Linked DNA regions of Homo sapiens: regions 1 and 2 are each linked to region 3. Evidence: promoter capture Hi-C in 16 types of primary human blood cells and fetal thymus (Javierre and others, 2016). All regions are on one chromosome and are shown on one strand. Each heading gives the region's core, a stretch centred on a gene start or on the middle of the fragment in contact. The rest is flanking DNA. Distances are from core to core; before and after follow the strand shown. Region 1 overlaps ARHGAP10 (Rho GTPase activating protein 10). Region 2 overlaps ARHGAP10 (Rho GTPase activating protein 10). Region 3 holds the start of ARHGAP10 (Rho GTPase activating protein 10).

Region 1 (3,289 bases), core at 633-3,132, 300 kb after region 3:
TCCATCGGCATTGGCGCATCTAGCCATACTGTGTATGCTCATTATTTTTCTTTGCAATATATGATTAAATGATATTAAATTTATTTGCAAAAGACTGTAAAATTCTAGTTACTTGCTTAAGCTTCTTTATTGATGATTAATATGAACTAAAATGGATATAGTATCTGGCTAGTTTTCTTAAATTAGAGCAGCTGTTAAATCTTTGTGAGATTCTCATCTTTTATTTTGTTGAAGCCATATTGCTCATTTTTCATATAACATTTAATCTCAACATCAAAGCTGAGTAGATTTGGCTAAGTCAGTTATGAAAAAGCAAAATATGACGTAGGCTGCTAAGTGCTGAAAAGATTAGAAATCAAAGGTTTGCTTTCATTTCATTTTCAAGTTATATCCCATGTTTTTATTTCTTTAGAACTACTAGTAAGATAACTCTAAAAATGTTAAATATATGTTATGTGTTTATTTTCTCCTGCCCCCACTCCAAGTGCATGTCCTTACAATCTCTTACATAAAGAGGGGCTGTTGTGTTTATTGTAATTCCCCCAAATACAAGGAAAGTTCAGGAGGCTATATGAGATCAAAGTGATCTTTGTTATTTTTCATTCAAGGCAGAAGAAATTTTAAGCAAAGGTCTGGGGAGTCGGGGAGAAGAGGATTACCATCTGAATCTCTTTCTTCATGCTAGTTCTAATTTTAAACAAAACTAGACATTTACAGAACTAGGTTTTATATGTATCTTCTGGTGTAATTAAGTATTCTTTGCCTGTCTTCTTTTGTAACATGATACAGCAGCTTATTTAGGCAACTTAAAAAAATATGACTTATAGTGAGTTGAAAACAAAATCATCTTGCAAGCCAATTGGCAAGATTTAATAACATTTGAGTGTTGGTCTTACTTGGGTATCGTCGGGTTGGCACTTTAACATTTGGATCACGAATGTGCTAACTGCAGCACATTTTGTTGAGCATGTGTTATTGTAGTCCTACAGCGTGGTAGATACCGTGATGAGGATACAGAGCCTTCTCAGCAAAAAAATGAAAATACTACTGTTGAGCGGGGCAGAGATGGATAAACAATGACACGTGATCATTTCCTTGTATCCTAAGTAGGAACATATCTTGATCTAGGTGAGTCTCTAAAATCAGAGTAGGACAAATATGTCATATATAGATGTCCTTTCAGCCTGAGTAATATCAAATTAGAACTTTGAATAATTAGCTAAAATTTAAATGTCACACGTCAACGAGAGCAATGCTGATGATATAAATTAGCCGTCTTAGGTAGGTTGAAAGAATTTGGTTTGATTTTGAGGCATGAGCAAGAGAACAGAAAACTAGAAAGCAGGCCACTGTGCGGTCTTTTTAAATGTAGATTTTTAATTCTAAACGATGGAATGCTGTTAGCCATTTGGAAGTTTTTTTTGCCTCTACCATTTATTAGTGGTTTTTATTATACTAGATATGAAAATCAGAATTATACTGCATATCAATTGAAGAGCTTTTATATGCTCCACATCCTGCCACATACGGTTTTTCCTTTAAAGGAGCTAATTTTCTGTTCCCATTCTGTTTGTCACTGCAGTGAAATAAGAAACAACGTGGCAGTAAGTGCCCAGTGCTAGCTCTGAGGAAGGGAAGTCTGTAGGGGGTGCTTTCTGGTTTCCTTGAAATGAGCTGTTTCGGCAGTTGGGTGGGAAAGGGTTTCAGGTAAGGGGAGTAGCGTGACTGAGGCATGGCAGGAGCAGAGAGCCGGAGCCAGGTGTGAGGGTAGGAGATTCCCTGATTAGAAGGGGACAGTGTTGACAGTTGTGAATGATGGGCGGAACTGATGTGAAAGACTTAGACCCAGGAGAGACAGCTTAAGGGACAAATGGGTGGATTGGAGCCTGGGCTGGGGAATATGTATCCTGACTGTATACTCATGGACAAATTGCTTACCCTCTCTAAATCTATTTTATTAGCTACAAAATCAGGGTAATAATAGTATCTACCACTGAGGATGGTTGAGAAGGTTCAGTTGTTAATGTGTTTAGCCTAACGTCTGGCACATAGTAAGCACTCGAACTCTAGCTGCTGCTGTAGGGTAGTATTCTTAAAGCCAGGGAAAGGTGCTTTAGGTTTAAAATGATAAGAGGAACCACTGAATATTTTTCAGCAAGGGAGAAGAGTTGTAACATTTTGAAAATAATACTTAAGAAACTTAATCTGACTTAATCTGCCAGTAGAAATCTGAAAGGCAGCCATGGTAAAAGGCTGATGAAGTAATTTAGGCTGAGGTTGAAGTGGGCTTGAATTAGCACTAGAAAGCAAAAATAAAATGGATATCTGGGAGAGATGTTAAAGCAAATCGGGGACTTCTCAACTGACTAGATGGAGAGATCAAGGCAGATAAAGTGGACATTATTCGCCACAGATTAGGCTCATAGGTAAATCTATCATTGTGTTTATGTTTTTGTTTTTATCTTCAGTTTTTTCCTTGCAGCTTAAAAACAGACCATCTTTCCATCAAAAGGAAGGAAACATGCCATTTTGTTAGTGTGTTCAATACGTATTCTTATGCGTAACTGCTTTGAAAAATAGGTTTAGTAAAAAATGGTGTAGAATGTCTTGGTATAAATAGTGTATATGGAAATAGTGTATATGGGAAAGTCAGTAGAAAGAGAGAAATAGTAAATAGTTACTAAAATATTCCATGTGCTTAGAAAAAGAACAGTCCTATAACTATGAGCAAAGTACAGCTCATTTTTCTCCAATTTTTCCTCACAGGCACATATATCCACGTTCATCCATAGGCTCATATTAAGGGATGGGAGGCCACTCACTCTAGTGAGACCCTTCATTAGAAGCCAAGGATAGCTCACATTCACGGCAGCGGTGCACTCTGTAATCTCAGCTCCCAAGAGAGCATCTATAGAATGCCTCTTTATGAAAATGTGCTTTCATAAGTGAATTGTAACTACTCTGTCTTTCCCACGATGTTAGCAGGACACAAACTATGTGGAGGTGTGAGAAGGACAACTGGAAAACCATTGTTGGCATGGATTTTCGTTGACATTCTGTAGCTATAGATGTTTCCTTGTAAACATGTGATCAGCTTGATGCAGATTATAATCAATCCAGGTAACTGGACTAAGCAGACCTTTGCATTAAGATGGGCAGTCTGTCTTTTCTCCATGCTTACCAATTTTTTTTTGGCATGGCATTTCATGGGTGGGCTCTGGATAATAACTTCCCAAGCCCAGAAGCCCTTTGCCATCTCCTCACAGCAGTGTTATGATTCCTTGACATG
Region 2 (3,346 bases), core at 697-3,196, 260 kb after region 3:
TCCCATGAGCCATCTTCAATTCATTTAAGATGGCCATGGAAGGTATGAGCTTGTACCACGGGACTTTCTACTTAAATAATGAAAGACACCCATCATCTATTGTTTTGCGATGCTCTGGTATTCAGCCTTCTGCCTGAATGAAGAAGAAAGTAAGAAACTGATTGGAGGGTGTATTGAAGAAGGCACCTCTGTCTTTCAGGACATTATTAGTCATTAGTCATTACTACTTCTTATGCAGATATTTGTAGAATTACCTTCTTTCTAATATCTTACCTATGCATACCTAATTCATAATGATTTGGGAGCAGGGTTTGGCTTTTGCTTTTGTTTATATCTTGTTCTTTCTTGACCAGATAGTGATGAATTCTTTTGATTGTCATGCAGTATTCTGTAAGTTTTTCTTGATATGACAGAGATACATTTATCTAGAATTCTAGAGCAGAGTCAAACCTAATCATTGGAAGCTCTAAAGATCTGTACTCTGCCTGGAATTTGCTTCACAATAATTTTAAGGGTGGGAATATAGATGAACTAAGATTGGTCATGAGTTAGTAATTGATTCGGCTAGGTGATGATGTATGTAGGAGTTCATTATATTATTCTTTTTCCTTACATTTATGTCTGAAATTATTCATAACAATAGTTAAATGACCTGATACTTGTTGCTAGCATCCTTGTATACAATTATTAATTTATTCAGCAAACATTAAGCTGCTATGTGAACAGGTACAAAAGATTAAAAAAGCATGTCATGCTTTCTAGAAGTCCAATATTTAGTGAGAAAGTCAGCTGTGCAACTGTGACACAGTAGAAACCCAGTAGCATGGTCTGGAGATCGTCTGAGTTTGGACCTACAAGGAGCCTGTCGTTTGCTTTGTTCAAAGCCAGGTTAACACCATTTCTGCAATTTAAAGACTTCGTGTACTAAGCATTTATTTGTGAGTCAACATAGTTGTGTCTTCAGAAGATTTACCTATTCCATTCACAGTAGTAGGCCTGCAGAGGATATAATGGATATAATTATGAAATACAAAACTCTTTTTCCTAAGCATTCTAGTCTGCTTGGGGGAGAGGGTAGGCATTAAAGGCTCAGTGAGGAGCTGGTGTTTCAGACATGGGCAAGCTCTAGTTCATGCAAACCGTGAATCAACAGCCAACCCTGAAAGGGTAGATAGTATTGATGTATCTGCAGTTTACAGATCAATGCAAGAAAATGAAGCTTGGAGAGCTGAAATTAACTTGCCCAAGGTCACACAGCTTGCTTTATTCATTTATAGCCTGACTTCTTCCAAAAGGGATTTCGGGCAGCTAAGCCACACAGTTAGAAAGTTCCTTGTGGTCTTTCTACTGTCCCAAGAAAAACAAGGCTGTATTTTTTTCCTTTTGAGCTTAAATGATGCATAGTGTTTCAGTCAACATTACTACATGGATGGCTTCAAGTTTAAATTGCACAAAAGTGCTTATGTATGTCTCTGTTGGAATGTGTGGGAGTAAGAAAGGAAATCCCTGTATTTGATTTCATAAAGTCATGAGCTTTATATAGTTGCTTGAGCCACACATGCCGGTGCCTGGCTGTGTGCACAAGAAAGTTCTTGTTAATCCTTGCACAGCTGGTGTGGTGTTTGTCGTCATTATTACTTATTCTTAATTACCAGAAGTGCACATGGGCTACAGATTTTAGCCTGTGCCAAAGTAAATCTCTAAAGTAGTTGGATTAATAGGTTATGGGGAAGATTTATAATCCTTTGTGAATGATACTAATTCTGTATATGTTCATATAAAGAAACAGTTGACATCAGAAACTCAAAATGTAGATCGTAATCTCAATGTTATTCTCAATATCCATCTCCTGTACTCTTTAATTTGTTGCTGAATCAACATTGCTTTATTCGTAGATTGAAAATGGAATTTATTTCTAGGCTATCCCATTCTTAGGCAATTGTCTGTCTTTCTCTGCCCCAGCAATACGTAAAAGTTGAAACATTCTCCTAGGAAAGGCTTCAAATACTTGATTTCTCTGGAATGTCATTTATGTTTAGGTGGAAATGGGGGGAAATGACCGCTAAGAGGATTAGTCATTATTTTCATCATTTAATGAAGGAATTAGATTATTTGTGCTTAATGTGCTAATAAGCACAGAGTAAGCTGTACTTATTGATGGGTCGACGTGGAAAGGTCCTCTGAGTGAGAATTGTTTCTTGTGTGTAATCGTATTATTCTGTGGTTCCCGCAGAACTGTGTTTCTAGGGCCACAGACAGATCCACAGTGTAACTTTTTTGGAAGTCTATGTGTTTTTATCCACATTCTATGTAACTTAAAACCCTTTTACTTTATTTTATTATTGAGATAGATCCAAACTGTTATAAATTGTTTTTCATTCTCCATTGCTACCCATTCTTGGCAGCCTTCCCATTCATTCCTCTAGGTCAGTGATAACCAGTTTTTATGTTTCACATCCTTTTGAGGATTTGATGAAAAATAATCCACTTTCTGAAAACATACCAGTGCGTATACACCATTCATATACGATTTAAGGGCACACAGTACCTCCAAAGTCTATGAATAGACTTGGTTAGAAACCCTGGCTCTAGGTGAAAACAGCAAGGGTGATATTAAAATACTGTAATAAAAATATGTGATCTACTTACAGTGTGGAGTGTGGGAGGAGTAGGGAAGCTTATCAAGTTAGAGCTTGCCACATGTTACCGTATATTATGTTTTCCTTATGTATTTACCAGCATTATTTCTTGTCTACTTATTATTATCTAAAACAGATATCTCAAACATGTTTTAAGATGACAGAGTAAAGACAGATTTGTCAGCCTTACAATACAGACCACCAGTAGGTTAGAAGAAAAAATAATAACCTGGTATCAGTCAGAGACAAAGGCTAGAGACCAGCAAACAAAATTTCCAAAAATTTGCATGGTCCATCTCTCTCTCTTTTTTTTTCATGACGGAGTCTTGCTCTGTCACCCAGGCTGGAATGCAGTGGCGCGATCTCTGCTCACTGCGAGCTTCGCCTCCTGGGTTCACGCCATTCTCCTGCCTCAGCCTCCCGAGTAGCTGGGACTACAGGCACCCGCCACTACGCCTGGCTAATTTTTTTGTATTTTTAGTAGAGATGGGGTTTCACCATGTCAGCCAGGATGGTCTCCATCTCCTGACCTCGTGATCCGCCTGCCTCAGCCTCCCAAAGTGCTGGGATTACAGGCATCAGCCACTGCGCCTGGTGGTCCATCTCTTTTATACTCCCAACTTGACCTTCCACAGGGGGCCTGTATGTGTGAAATACTCAAAAAGCTCTTCTTTAGAAGTAGGTGCAGGAGATGGTTTGGGCAGCTT
Region 3 (3,537 bases), core at 143-2,642:
AGTCTGAACGTCTTGAGGAATTACTTTGAAGTTTCTCGTTAATATTACCATCATATCATGTAAGTCTATATCGCGAGTTTGTAGATGTATGGAGTTCCTAGTGGGTGCCCGGCACATAATAATTGCTTAATAAATTGCGATTATGAAACGTTACTCTAATGAACTATTAGTGTTTTTTTTTAAGAAATACTTTTTTTTTTTTTTGAGACATTGTCTCGCTCTGTCGCCCAGGCTGGAGTGCAGTGGCACCATCACGACTCACTGCAACCTCCGCCTCCTGGGTTCAAGCGATTCTCCTGCCTCAGCTGGGACTACAGGCACGTGCCACCGCACCCGGGTACTTTTTGTATTTTAAGTAGAGACGGGGTTTCACCATGTTAGCCAGCTGGTCTCCAACTCCTGACCTCAGGTGATCTACCCGCCTCCGTCTCCCAAAGTGTTGGGATTACAGGCGTGAGCCACCACGTCCGGCCTAAGGTATACATTTTAATACTTTAAAATGCCTAACTTTTTTTGGGACACACTGGAGTTGTTTCATAACACACAAAATAGGCTTTTTGAGGGCACTGACATAAATTCTCATTGATCGTCACCCCCACGCGGTGAAAACCACACGTTACCTGGCATGTTTTCCGGTAGTTATTTTTAGAATAATAAAGATCGTCTTCACCTACCCCAGCAAATTTAATGTGCTGAACACAACAGAAACAACTTTTCTGTGGTTTAGCCAGCCCTCTCTCTTCAACTAAGTTATTTAGTGCGGATACGCAGAGAAGTGTAATAGGAGCTGCTGGGCCACCAAGAAAACGCTCTTGCCATTGTAAGGCTTCGATCTCAAGCGGAGATTTACCACGCATCTCACTTTAAACTGGGAAAGGAACCGGGATAAGGAAAAGAGCCCCCTGTGCGAGTTCGTTCCCAGCTCGGGGTTGGGGGCGTCCCAGGATAAATGAGATAAATGAGTTAATCATCTCCTGCAAGGCAGCCACTTCAGAGTTATGTCGCCCGCCTGCGGGGACTAACGACTGCAATTAAGACGCTCCTTCTCGGTCCCGGTCGGGTTCCGTGCAGCGGGGAGCCGACTGTGAGTCACCCCGGCCCCGGGAGCCCAAGCAAAGGGGAGGGGAGAGCGCCCAGGGTGGAGGGGAGCCGCGGGGCGAAATTCTAGCCCCAGGACGCCTCGGAAGGAAGAGGAGGGGCAGCTGCGCGTGGGGAAGAGAAGGAAGAGGCGTCCAGGGAAGGGAAGGGAGGAAGAAGGAAGGCGGAGGAAAGAGAAGGGGACGAGCGGGAGCGCGGGCCCGGCCGGGTGGCGCCTCGGGGAGTGTCTGCCGCGCGGGGGCCGGGCGGGGCGGGGCCGCGGGCGCTCAGAGCTCGGCGGGGGCTGCCGGGATTGGGGCGCCGCAGCTAGCGCTGGTCTCGGTGGCAGCTCCTCCGCGCCGCAGGACTCGGCTCTACGGGACATGTCCGTGCCGCGCTCGCCGCGCGCCCGGGCCTGCTAGCTCCTCTGTGCTCCCTGAACGCGCGGCGCCGCACCTGGCAGCGGCCTCGGAGCTCGGCTCGGGCAGGAGCGCGCGGCCGTGCGCACCGCGCAGCGACCGCTGCCGTCATGGGGCTGCAGCCCCTGGAGTTCAGCGACTGCTACCTCGACAGCCCGTGGTTCCGGGAGAGGATCCGCGCTCACGAAGCGGAACTCGAGAGGACCAACAAGTTCATCAAAGAGCTCATTAAGGACGGGAAGAACCTCATCGCTGCGACGAAAAGTAAGCGGGGACGCGGGCGCGGACGGGCTGCGGCGTGGCGAGGCGGCTGGGGGAGCCTCTCTCGGCAGGAGACGGAGGGTCTTGTGTCCGGGGCCAGCAGCCAGAGGAACGGGGAATTCATTCCGGACCAGCCCAGCTCTCTCGGAACCCCGGGGGGTCCCTGGAATCATTCCTCCTCGAGGCAGCGCGGCGAGTCCCCATTCCCGCCCCTGCGGCTCTGCGGCGGCGGGAACCAGCTGCCAGCGGGCCCCGCCTGGGCCCCGCCTGGCCCCGGCCGAACACCCCTCGCTGAATGCGCGCTCCGCTGGACCGACCCTAGGCACTCCTGGCCCGGAGTCAGGTTTCATTGCTGCCTAAAGCTACTCACAATCTCTTACAAAACCGAGGCATCTGTTTGCCTAGTTTTGTTTTGTGACTTCTCAAAAGAAATTTCTTGGGGATTCTTTGAAACCCTGCGGGAGTGTTGAGTTTTCCAGAGTCCCCTTAAGCTTCACCTTTTCCCTCTCATTGTCTGATCTTCCCCGACAGTCCTGTTCCAGGTCCTTCACGTGCCAAACCAGAAAGTCCACCTGGCTTTATGCTGCTTCCGCACATTCCTCCCCTGCCGTGCTGAGGAGGGTTCAAAGATTGGGGTTTGGAAGGGTGAGCGGACAGCCTGCCCTCTAGCCTAGGCGGGCACTGCTTGCAAATAGGGAATTCCACCCCGGTTAGGCTTGGTGCCTTCCTCCCCTGAACTTCTGTCTCTTAAACTCGGAAGAAGACACGAGATACAGGAGAGATAACTGTATTTTAGTGTAGTTGAGGAGAGTCTTTCTAGGAGAGAAGGGGCCAAAATTCATGCAGAAATACTGAGTTAGTGATGCTACTGGAAAATGGGGCGGAATTAGCCCCAGTGAGGAGCTGGGCAGCCTGACCATCCCTTGGATCCATAACCCCTTCGGAGGATGGCGGTGAATGTCCCCTTTCCCCCTTTAAAAGACCTGTCCATACAGCAGACAGGGACTTGGGCAGTATCCAGCCTTGAGGGGCTGGGTTCTTAGGGCCTTCATCACTCACCTAGATTCTCAGTTCAGTAATTCTCAGCCTTAGGTATTCGTCCCTTGTACATTTGTTTGTAGATACCACCTCTGGGGAAAATCCCCCATCTCACTGTTCTCCCGACCGCGCCCCGCCCCATTTTTCAGTAAGGGCGATTAAAACATATTGATTATACTGTCTCGGGCACCCAGCATGGTGCCTGGTACAGTAAATATGCATTTAATGAATAAGTTGAAGTACATTTCTGTGGGAAGAATTTAGTGAGCCATCCCTGTAATTTTGGAGGCAAGTCACTCAACTTCTCTGGATGATCTCCAAGGTTCCTTTTGGTTCTCTGACCTCTTTGGTGTTGCAAAATCAGGACTGGGACTCACTTAGGGTTTTTTTGTTTTGTTTTTAAGTCTCTGCTGCTTGAATCAGAAATGGGACTCTGGGACATGTGACAAGTGGGCTTATTTGGTTGAGGGCTCTCCAGGCCCTTGGCATCTGGTATGTGTGTTGGGTGGGAAGTAGGGGGGCGCCTATACATATGGAGGAGTGAGCATAGAAAGGAGGAGTTGGGAGCGGGGGTGCAGAGTGAACACGAGAGAATGAGGACTGAGGACTCTTTCTGTAACTTGATGTTAACCAGAGTCAGTGGCCGGGAGAATGTACCTTCTCTCTCATTGGTTGTAGTAGTTCCCTCTGGAGCTAGAGAGGTGTGGAGAGAGGCAGAGGGCAAAGCCAGTTTGGCCACTGG

Evidence for each region. Contacts are between HindIII fragments. The CHiCAGO score rates a contact against its expected background, and 5 or more counts as called.
Region 1: a contact is called between a fragment that was not itself captured here and the fragment with the promoter of ARHGAP10 in region 3, in 1 of 17 cell types (M0 macrophages). The highest score is 5.2, in M0 macrophages.
Region 2: a fragment that was not itself captured here is called in contact with the fragment with the promoter of ARHGAP10 in region 3 in 1 of 17 cell types (M1 macrophages); the score reaches 6.2 in M1 macrophages.

What each region holds. Positions count from the first base shown.
Region 1 is chr4:148,026,482-148,029,770 of GRCh38, forward strand. All of the region lies in intron 19 of ARHGAP10 (Rho GTPase activating protein 10), which reads left to right. Among named protein-coding and RNA genes, the nearest start is that of MIR4799, 250 kb to the left of the region's middle. The HindIII fragment of the contact is 3,526 bases long and covers 120-3,289 here.
Region 2 is chr4:147,992,781-147,996,126 of GRCh38, forward strand. All of the region lies in intron 18 of ARHGAP10 (Rho GTPase activating protein 10), which reads left to right. Among named protein-coding and RNA genes, the nearest start is that of MIR4799, 210 kb to the left of the region's middle. The HindIII fragment of the contact is 1,458 bases long and covers 1,218-2,675 here.
Region 3 is chr4:147,730,696-147,734,232 of GRCh38, forward strand. It overlaps ARHGAP10 (Rho GTPase activating protein 10), which reads left to right and starts at 1,393. Exons shown (of 23, transcript NM_024605.4): 1 at 1,393-1,760. The coding sequence starts at 1,607. RefSeq lists enhancers at 1,004-1,896, 1,897-2,789, 2,110-2,179, 3,308-3,437 and silencers at 1,090-1,609, 1,920-1,999. The HindIII fragment of the contact is 2,455 bases long and covers 1-2,246 here.